Linked DNA regions of Homo sapiens: all the other regions are linked to region 1. Evidence: promoter capture Hi-C in 16 types of primary human blood cells and fetal thymus (Javierre and others, 2016). All regions are on one chromosome and are shown on one strand. Each heading gives the region's core, a stretch centred on a gene start or on the middle of the fragment in contact. The rest is flanking DNA. Distances are from core to core; before and after follow the strand shown.

What was found. Contacts are between HindIII fragments. The CHiCAGO score rates a contact against its expected background, and 5 or more counts as called.
Region 2: a fragment that was not itself captured here is called in contact with the fragment with the promoter of SRFBP1 in region 1 in 3 of 17 cell types (total CD4 T cells, naive B cells and total B cells); the score reaches 9.4 in total CD4 T cells.
Region 3: a contact is called between a fragment that was not itself captured here and the fragment with the promoter of SRFBP1 in region 1, in 1 of 17 cell types (total B cells). The highest score is 5.1, in total B cells.

The regions. Positions count from the first base shown.
Region 1 is chr5:121,960,373-121,964,103 of GRCh38, reverse strand. It overlaps SRFBP1 (serum response factor binding protein 1), which reads right to left and starts at 2,129. Exons shown (of 8, transcript NM_152546.3): 1 at 2,036-2,129. The coding sequence starts at 2,071. RefSeq lists enhancers at 2,144-2,193, 1,938-2,476. The HindIII fragment of the contact is 3,156 bases long and covers 753-3,731 here.
Region 2 is chr5:127,519,913-127,523,643 of GRCh38, reverse strand. PRRC1 (proline rich coiled-coil 1) reads right to left here. Exons shown (of 9, transcript NM_130809.5): 2 at 62-184. The coding sequence starts at 164. Among named protein-coding and RNA genes, the nearest start is that of PRRC1, 4.1 kb to the right of the region's middle. The HindIII fragment of the contact is 2,639 bases long and covers 246-2,884 here.
Region 3 is chr5:127,500,498-127,504,228 of GRCh38, reverse strand. No RefSeq gene overlaps it. Among named protein-coding and RNA genes, the nearest start is that of PRRC1, 15 kb to the left of the region's middle. The HindIII fragment of the contact is 1,537 bases long and covers 990-2,526 here.

The sequences.
Region 1 (3,731 bases), core at 880-3,379:
GATTGAAAGCGAATTCAAATTATTTTTCAGATACATTTCCTCCTTGAAGAAGTTAATTCATTTCTTCTGCCTATTTTCTGAGATGGTTTCTTTTAATTTCTATGAGGTATTTCCTATTAAGGGCATTAGCCCTTTGTCATATCTGCTGTATTTTTTTTTTCTAGTTGGTTGTCATTTCTTTTCTTTGGTAGGTTATTCAATTTTTATGTAGATAAATCTCTCTTTCCTTTTGTGGGTTTTTTTTCCCACTAATTTTAAATTATAATATCCTCCATCATCTCCACTTTTTTCTGTCCTTTTTATCTCCTTCACATTAGAACACACTAGACTTCAGTGGTGGATGTGTGTAGTTCCTGCTTTCACAAATTCATGTAATCACCTAGTAAACATATGTGCTACACATGATAGACACATAAACACAGGAAGACAGAAACAGTTACATAAGTGTTTCCAGAGGAGAAAGCAATCTGGGTGCACAAAGAACAGACACCTAACCCAGACCGAGAGGAGTTAATGAAGGTTTCCTAAAGGTCAAATTTTAACTGTTTTGAAGAAGAACAAAAGTTAGCTAAGTGTGAAAAGAGTCTTTAATGACTCATCCCCTGTCATTTCCATCATCAAAGTCATTACAAAATTTGATATGAAGCTCCCTGGGGTTGAAATCCCAGGGACATTACTCTGATCTTTCATACATCACAGGTAACCTAATGCAAAATAGCCCACCAAACGCTTTCTGGCACAAAGCACAAGCTTAATGTATGTTTATGAGTAAATAGTAACTACTTTCAGCTTCCCTCTTCAGCATATCCTGTACTCCACTGTCAACTGAAATCCTGACTCGTTAATCTGGCAGCAGAGAATATATTTCAGTTTTATTTCCTTCTTCATCTCACAAGTTCCCATCAGTGAAGAGTTACTTATCCCTGTATTACCCACGGGTTCTTCTGCTACTAGCCCTTTCCTGCTTATACCAGTCCCTCTGCCTGGAATGACTTCTTCCCCTTTCCTGAATCACTGACTGCAATTCCTGTGCAAGATCCCTAAAGACCAAGGACAAGTATCACCCATTTCATTTTGCCGCCTTTGGAAACTTTTCTGCATTACTAGGTTTTGGAGGCATTCTTCACACATTGTTCTGTAACACAGGTGAGTGTTGCTTAGCTCTCTTACTTGAGTATAGGTTACTAGAAAATATGAAATATCCCTTACACTACTGTGTGTAATCTAAACAGTGACTTGCTCATAAACGGGATAAAGAATTTCCTTTCTGTATCTAACTGTGAGGTCCTTACTCGATCCTTATGTTTCCAGCTTACTTTAAGACTTTGGATGACATTATTTTGTTGAATAGAAGCAGAAACCAGAGGGGGATAAGTGGTAGAAATGGTATTTTGTCGACACCGCACACTATGGAAGTGACGGTGGTGAGAACAAATGTCTGATGAGAATGGACTGAAAAAGCAGAAAAAAGAATTGAGGATAGCAAGTATAAACAGCTCTTTATTGAAGTTCTGCTGTAAACGGAAGCAAAGAAATAGGACACTAACTGGAAGAGGAAACGAAGTACTGAGCATACAGTCTCATTCAAGACCACCAATTTCTTAGAAGCTACAGCTCTTACTTTCTCTCTTTCATTTTCGACAGGCAATAAAGAGCAGGTAATGTGTACTGAAAGTTTATTAAGGGTCAGGCACTTGCAAATACTTTACGTATCTCAGTTAATCTCACAACCCTGGGACGAACTATCTTGAGTTCCGCTTTACAGACGAGAATATTGAACGTACAGGCTAAAGGTTCTTCCCAAAGTCCCACAGACATAAATTCGTGGGGCCTGACACATGTCTCTCACTTTAGTCACCTGGAGACCGAAAAGGGAAATTACCGGTTGCCAAACTCCAAGTTGCGGGAAACCCGCCTGGGCCCACCACGAAAGTTCCTCCAACCGCACCCTCTATGCCCGCCTCCGACCACGCGTCTCAAAAGAGCTGGTTTTGAGGACCCTTAAAGTCAGCCCCATAGGTTCCTCGGCGCTCACCTCGTTATTGAGGTTCAGAGTTCCCGGCTGAGCCATGGTAGATGAAGGAATATGATCCGCCGCTGCCTGCACGTGAACCGGTCTCTCAGACCGCGGCTGCGTCGCCACGCCCCTCAACGGAAGCCTCTTCTGTCCAAAACTCATCCGCCTTCTGCTCTAGCTGCCGCCTGGGAACAAGAAACATTGACGCTTGGAAGGGAAAACCGGAACTGAGACAGAACAACTACCGGCGCAGAGGGCTACGCAACGGAATTGCGCGTTCCTATGGAAACCAGACGGGGGCTGGTAGCTGGGCAACGTCTAGTTTTTCAAGATTCGGTTTGTGTGTGTGTGTGTGTGTGTGTGTGTGTGTGTGTGTGTGTGTGTGTGTTCCCTTGGTACACTGCGCTCGCATTGTACCGGCCTTGGTTTTTCTCTCTAATGGCTAGGGGGGCGCTGAACGGCGGTGAAAGAGCTCTTCTGAAATGATCACTTGAATGAACGATTTTTTGCTTCCATTTTTTTAAATCTAGTATTTGTGAAGATTTCTGCTTTTCTAACAAGCACACCTTTTTAAATCCTCGCAGTTTTTTGTTACAACCTGACATTATAGCTGAGGTGCGGACATTTTTTTCCTGCACACTATAGAAGGGTTTAAATTTAGGGAATAAACATTTGAAGCAAAACCAGGATACACATTTGGTACTGCCTGTGGGAATGGCTGTTTATTAGCCGGCAAGCATAGGAGACGTAAGGGAGTGTGTTTGAATTAGGTAATATATAATTGTCAACACCTTCTAGTATTGACCATTAAAATGTGTCAAATGGTGGTCCAAGAGCTTTACATAAATTAGCTCCAAATCTCCACAGAAATCCAACAAGATAGAAATTATTTTCCTTTTATTAATATTATTTTGTTAGAGACCCAGTCTCTCTTTGTCATCCAGGCTGGTGTGCAGTGGCACAGTCATAGCTCACTGCAGCCTCAAACTCTTGGGCTCAAGCCATCCTCTCACCTCAGCCTTCCAAATAACTAGGACTACAGGAGTGAGCCACCCTACTCTGCTCTGAACTATTATTTTACAGATGTGGAAAGTGACTTCAGAGGCACCAAGTGCCTCGCCCAGAGTCACTTGCCTGGGACTGTCCACTGCTACAGGACTTCAAGTCCAGCTACATAATACCTGGGGTACAGTGCAAAATGAAAATCCAGGCCCCTTTATTCAAAATGCAGGAAAAACGTTTCTTCCGGCGGAGGGTGGTGGCTCATGCCTGTAATCCCAGTACTTTAGGAAGCCTAGGCGGGCGGATCACCTGAGGTCGGGAGTTCGAGACCAGCCTGACCAACGTGGAGAAACCCCGTCTCTACTAAAAATACAAAATTAGCCGACCGTGGTGACGCATGCTTGTAATCCCAGCTACTCGGGAGGCTGAGGCAGGAGAATCACTTGAACCTGGGAGGCGGAGGTTGCCGTGAGCCAAGATCACTCCAGACTGGGCAACAAGAGTGAAACTTCGTCTCAAAAAAAAAAAAAAGTTTCTTCCATAGCGTCTCTTGACTCATCATGGTGTTTGTTAATTTACTATTTAATACGATGCTCCCTAAAGCACAGAGACATTAGGTTGTCAGGGCAGACCCTCAAAGGTGCCTGAGACCCCTGCCCCAAGACTCAGGTAGGAGTGTATACACTGGAGCAAGGTGGCAGCAGTTGCTGGG
Region 2 (3,731 bases), core at 316-2,815, 5.6 Mb before region 1:
AAAAGATGATAGTATCTTCACTATTCTCAAAACACACGAGATGTTAGACAACTACATGTACCTAATGGAACAGGGGTAGAAGACATAGCAGTAGCAGCCAGCCCTGCAGGATTTGGTGGAGGAGTCCCAGGTGGTGTTGTCTCTATTCCACTCTCTTCCATCATTTTTCTTCAATTATGGTATACTATAAAAACACAAAAATGTAACAAATATTACACAGTAACCAAAAGTATATTTTTAAAGCTTGAATAGAGAACGACTAAAAAAAAAATCATCAAGAGATAGATGTCCACCTTTACTGTTTATAATGCAACTTATTTCCAGACGAAGAGTTTGTCCAAATTTCTAAGAAAGCAATCTATGAGAATATTTAATATCAAACAATCTGTAACATTCCCATGTAGATACTTTATAAGTGGGAAATAATTTCATGTTATAATAACAATATAACTAATTATCTACTACATTTCAAATAGTAAATTACTAATTTGATTTCTGCCACATGAATGCATGTTAGAGATAGTTATGTCTGGGCCAGGTGTGGTGTCCCATGCCTATAATCCCAGCACTCTGGGAGGCCAAGACGGGAAGCATTTGAGGCTAGGAGTTGTAGACAAGCCTGGGCAACATAGCAAGATCTCATTTCTAAAAAATAAAATAAGTAAATAATATAAATTTCAGTCATTATTAAATTTAAAATAAAAATGAGGCTGGGCACAGTGGCTCACGTCTGAAATCCCAGGACTTTGGGAGGCTGTGATGAGAAGATGCCTTGAACCCAGGAGTTCAAGGTTGCAGTGAGCTATGACTGCACCACTGCACTCCAGCCTGCGTGACAGAGCAAGATCTCTAAAAATAAATAAATAAAATATTTAATGTATTTTTGAAGCCCTTCCTCTTCTCTCATAAAGTACTGTGTATAAGATAACCCCATTAACATAAAAAAAAAATAAAGCCAGGCACAGTGGCTGACCGCTGTAAACCTACACTTTGGGAGGTAGAGGTGGGAGGATCCCTTGAGACCAGGAGTTTGAGACCAGCCTGGGCACCATAGGAAGACTCCATCTCTACAAAAAAATTAAAAAATTAGCCAGGCAGGGTGACATGTGCCTATGGTCCCAGCAACTCAGGATGCTGAGGTGAGAGGATCACCTGATCCCAGGAGGTTGAGGCTGCAGGGAGCAGTGAGAATGCCACTGTACTCCAGCCTGGGCAACAAAGCAGGACCTTGTCTCAATAAAATAAAATAAAATGTGCTTCACTTGATAAAAGCATTAATTCACAATTTTCCTAGTTCACATTTTAAAGCATATCCAGTAACAGATAAATTGTATATCTGAGGTTTTAGAAAAGTTAACTATAGCAAAAATGCCATTAGATAGCAGCATCCTAATAGACAACAATGGATTATAAAATATGAGAAAACTTTCTTTAAAATTACAAATCCTGAAGTGTATCTCAAGTACAGAACCAACTTCTAAATATGCTATATTTGTTTTTAATATTTTTATTCATTTAATAAGTTTTTAGCGAAGGTCAACTGCTTGACGAGCACTATACTGATGCCTTTGGAAATGACAATGATTAGCAAAAACAAATAGGATACTTACAGTCTAGTACACGAAACAATCAAATAATAAACCAATTTACAATGAATGGTAGCTGAATTATGTGCTCTGAGGGTAAGAACACAGTTTTGTTTGACAGGAATATGATTTTGACTTGGAGGTAAGGAAAGGGTTCCCCAAATAAGTCACAGATAAACCGAGATTTGAAGGATAAGAACTTAATTAGGCAAGGGAAGAAAGGCAGAGTCCAGAAAAAGTGAATATATAGCAAATATATATACCAACTGAGCTGGGAAGAACAAGATACATTCAATAAAATCCATGTGAAGGGAGAGAAAGAAGAATCAGGACTGGAGGGACAGACAGAAGCCCAGAAGGTGTTCAGCCTCATAAACCAGGTTAAAAAACTTGGGTTTTTAAAGAACAGAGTGTCACTGTGTTAGAAATAAATTTTCGGTGCCACAAAAGAAATAGCACTCGAACATAAATTTAATTTTCTCAGCAAGGCAATTTTACTTCTATAGAAGGGTGTGTCTCACAGATGGAGCAATGTCAAGAGCACACCTGAACAAGGGAGGGGAAGGGGTTCTTATCCTAACGCAGCTAGTCCCTACTGCTGTGTCTTTCCCCCATTGGCTAGGGTTGGACCACGCAGTCTAAGCTAATTCCAACTGGCTATTTTAAAGAGAGCAGGGGTATGAGCCAGAGCAGCAGGGTGAGTAGTTTGGCGGGAAGGACGGTTACAGAACAGGTGATCCAGGATGACTAAGAACAGAGCAGATGACCAAGGATTACTAAGGTCAGAGCAGGTGACCAAGGGTGACTAAGGTCAGAGCAGTTGATAGAGGCTAGAAGGGGATTGTTTACTGAAACTGGGGGCAAGGAGAAATAAAGAACTAGGAATTTAAACTTTAAAATGAAGAACAAAGAACAGGGGAGCTGAACATACTGATACACTGGTTCTTTGGAGAGGATCTCAGAACTCATTGTACTTAACAATTTACAGGCTAAAATCTATGAAGAGAAATTTATCATATCCTACAACTGTAAGGCATTCAAGCTGAGGGTAGCATAACTGTCTTTTGTTTTAACTGTTTTGAAGGAATTTTAGGTTCAAAAAAAAAATGTAGAAACAGCAGAGTTCTTGAGTACCCCAAACCCAGCTTCTCTCAGTAACAGCATCTTACATAACTACACTACAATGATCAAAACCATGAAACTGACATTGGTACAACACTATTAACTATAGATCTTATTTGTATTTCACATGTTTTTACATTTACTGTGTGTGTGTATGTGCATAGTTCTATGAAGCTTCATCATATGCACAATCTCGTATAACCACCACCTCGACCAGGACATAGAACCATTCCATCACTAAAAAGAAACTTCCTCATGTTGTTCCTTTATCTACCTTCCCGTCAACCATAAGCCCTGGCAAACACTGCTCTGTTTTCTATCACTTTCTCGTTCCATGAATGTTACATAAATCGAATCATACAGCATATAACCTTTTGAAGTTGGCTTTTTTTCATTCAACATAATGTTCTTGAGATTCATCCAAGCTGCTGCATATATCAAATTGGTTCCTTTTTATTGCTGAATAGTATTCCATTGTATAAATGTACCTGCTGAAGGACATTTAGGCTGATTCCAGTTATTAGCAATTCATATTTATTTTTTGAAAAGATCTGAACAAAGTATGCAGCCTGGGCCACTGGGCAGACAGAGCAGATGCAGACAGGCCATTAAGGAAGATATAGAAGTAGTTCCATCAGAAGTAAGTAACAACCTAGACTAATGATTTTCATAGTGGGAAGGGCTGATTATGCCCCCAAGGGGTCACTTGGCAATGTCCAAGACATTTTTTATTGTCACTACTAGAGGGCTACTACTGGCATATAGCATGAAGAGGTTAGGAATACTACTAAAAATCCTCCAATGCACAGCCTACACACAAGAATTAAGTGGCCCCAAATTTCAATAGTGCCAAAGTTGAAAAACTCTGACCTAGACTCAAGTGATGATAGTGGAGATGGAGAAAAGTAAATAAGTTCAAGACAAGATTAGGTGGCAAAATTCAGTGACTGGGTATGGAGGAAGGGAAAGGAGGCATGACTTGCACAACTAGATAGATGGTGGTGCCATGCACAAAGATAGGAA
Region 3 (3,731 bases), core at 509-3,008, 5.5 Mb before region 1:
GATCCTTGCTTGAAAACTTTGATTTCCCTCACTTGACTACAGGATAAAGTCCAAATCCTTTAGCTTAGATTTCAGATTGTACTAACATGGTCCCATTCAACTTTCAACTCTACTACCTCCTTGCCTAAACCTTCCATGAAGAGAGTAGATTGCCAATTATTTAACTTGTATTAATTCTGAATATTTAGTTCATTTTAATCTTTTGCTAATCCCAGCAATGCTATATTGATCCTACTTAGATATGTCTCATTTTACACATGTGCAAGTATTATCTGTAGAATAAGTTCTCAAAAGTAGAGTTGTTTGATCAAATGATATGTGTCTTTGGAATTTCAATGGATATCGCCAAGTCGCTCTGCATTGATGTCATACCAGTTTATACTCTCACCAGTGAACTATGAGTGCCTGCTTCCCTACTTCTTCTCCAACTACAGTTTGTTACCAAAGATTTGAATCTTTGCTAATTTACAGGTGTGTTTATCATATTAAGAGTAAAATTATTTTATGTGTTTAAGGTTATTTGTGCTTCTTTTGCTGTGATCTCCATCTTATATTATCTTCTTGATTTTTAAAAGTTAGTTTATGGGAGATCTTCACACCATAAGAAAATTAGTCCTATATATGCAATGCATGTTGCAAATATTTTGCCTTCTTTGTGATATGAATTCTGTCTTTGTGTGTGTGTGTGTGCATGTTGCCATATATAAATTTTTTCTAGAGCAAAATTTATTATATCTTTAAAATCAGCTCATCTATATTAAAATAAAACTCAGATGGTATTTTTATGGGGATCCTATATTTTAAAATATAGATTAAAAAGATTCATTTTAATTTATATTGTCTTATAGATAGGGTCTCACTACATTGACTAGGCTGGCTTAGAACTTTTGGACTCAAGTCATCCTCCCACCTCAGCCCCTGAGTAGTTGGAACTACTGGCACATGCCATTGTGCCTGGCAGAAATATAGACAAATATTTTTCATAAGCTTCTCTTAGGTATTTAATCTTTTTTCTTGCCATTATTGATAGAGTCTTTTATTACATTTTATGGTTGATTATTTCTTGCATATAGGAAGGCTATTTATTTAATATTAATTTTGTAACCAGTCACCTTACTGAACTGGCTTGTTTCCAATAGCTTATGAATTGATTTGCTTTTATTTACTCTTCCTTTACAATATTTTTACTTCTTATATTCATATTTTCATCTTCTAATTTTGAAAAATTGACTAAGGTTTTATTTGTGGTCTAAAATATGGTCAGTTTACTCCAATGCTTTGTGGGTATGTGAAAAGAATGTGAAGTCATGGAATTTAATTCCATGCAGAGCAATTAGTTAGCAAACTTAACTTATTACTTACATTATTTATGTGTTCCATTTACAAACTTATTTTTTATTCACTTGCTATGTCATGAACTGAGATATGGGCATTAAAACTGCCTGTACCTAATGTGTTTCTATTTCCTCTTGTGTTTCCTGTAATTTTTGCTTTAAGTATGTTGATACGAGGTTATTTTATTCATAGATATACATAATGATGAGATCATTGAAGTGGATTGTATCCTTTATTATTTTCTTTACATTTGTCTGATAGGCCTTTACTCATTCTTTTGTTTTCATTTTTTCTGAGTGATTTTATCTTAGATACATATCTTGAATTTGAAAATATAATTACATTTTGCTTTATGATTTAGTTTGAGACTTTTTAAAATGAGGAGTTAATCTACTTACCTTTATTTATATGGCATATATGTTTACTTTTTATCTGATATATTTCATATTATATTTCATATTGTGTTTTCAGTTATTTTTTTCCTTTTTATAATTTTTTGTTATATCATCTATAATATTTTGTATATGTGTGTATTGTCTGGTAATTTGGAGAGTTCATGTTTTTGTACTAATGGTTATATTTATAACTACTACTTTATGTTGTATATTTAACTTTATGTATTAGCATCTATTGATTCCCTACTATGAGAAAAGATGAAACCAGTATACACCCATGGTTCTCCTGACTGCTACCATCTCACTTCAGTTGATTATATATTTTTGGTAGTATCTACCTTTTCTCTTTTTTGAGACAGGGTCTCACTCTGTCACCCAGGCTGGAGTGCAGTGTTGCGATCACGGCTGACTGCGGTCTCAACCTCTCTGGGTTCAGGTGATCCTCTCACCTCAGGCTCCCAAGTTGCTGGGACTACAGGTGCACCCCATTACACCTGGTTAATTTCTTTGTATCTTTTTGTAGAGACGGGGGTTTCTCTATGTTGCCCATGTTGGTCTCGAAATCCTGGGCTCAAGCCATCTACCCACCTCATCCTTCCAAAGTGCTGGGATTACAGGTGTGAGCTATCACTCTCAGTGGTAGTATTTACCTTTAAATTTTAAAATGAGACACTTGTGTTACTTGACTTACGGGCTTAATATGATTCCCAAGACCCTTCCTAGTCTTCTGGTCTGTACCTCCAATCTAAACTTCTTACATCTAATCTGAGAGTCAAAATCAGAGTCTAGACAAGCTTAAAACTAAGTCACTGTGGCAGAAAATCTGAGCAGGGCAATATAAAAATTAGCAGCTATGGGCAAATCTGGGATCTATATTTTCAGAAATTTGGGCAAAGAGAAGCAAGGAAGCATTATAGGAAGCAATGATTTTCAATTAAATTTGGAGGAGCAAAATAAAATGGACTTTGTAAGAATACTCTTGGAAATGAATATGAAGTTTGTGAAGTTGGAATCTATGAAGGAGTCAGTGAAGCCAAGTTCATGTTCTGAATGTGGGATTTCTGCTGCCACTATCTAATGAAGACAGGTGCTTCTTGTTGTAAAGCTAAATATATGGCCCAGTGCGGTGGCTCACACCTGTAATCCCAGCACTTTGGGAGGCAGAGGTGGGCAGATCAACTGAGGTCAGGAGTTCGAGACCAGCCTGACCAATATGGTGAAACCCCGTCTCTACTAAAAATACAAGAATTAGCCGGGCATGGTTGCGAATGCCTGTAATCTCAGCTACTCAGGAGGCTAAGGCAAGAGAATCGCTTGAACCCGGGAGGCGGAGGTTGCAGTGAGCCAAGATCGCGCCATTGCACTCCAGCTTGGGGGACAAGAGCGAGACTTCATCTCAAAAAAAAAAAAGAAAAGAGATAATGTGGGCCTTCTTCATTTATCAATATCAGAACCCTTCTACCTGAATATAGGCAAAGTAAAGCCCTATATAACTAGAAACATCTATCAGAAAGAACAGTAGACGAGTGGTATGCTCACTGGAACATATATAGATTAAACACGAAAAAGGTGTTAGGACTGATTACTGACACATTTCTTACATTACTCACCAACACTGGTTTTGGCTGGAAAAACAAATCAAGCAGCCAAAGATGTAAGAATATAAAACTACAATATTAAGGGTAATTGTTCTGGTTTTCAGACATAAAAATATCTTGGCAACTGTTGTAACTACTGCCAGACACTCCAACAGTCTGATTTTGTCATGAGATTTTATTTCTCCTTAACGAAGCAACTAAAAATCAGTAAAAAATCCTACTTGTACAAAATTCTAACATAAAATCTTAACTGTGTAAGCATTTTTAAAAGTCAAAACAAATTTAAGAAATGAAATTTTGCATCCATGTTATCTTTGGAAGAATAATGATCAAATCAAAACTTCAACTGTAATACCATGTTATTATGGTCATCAAATCCAAATTTGACAAAACATTAAGCAAT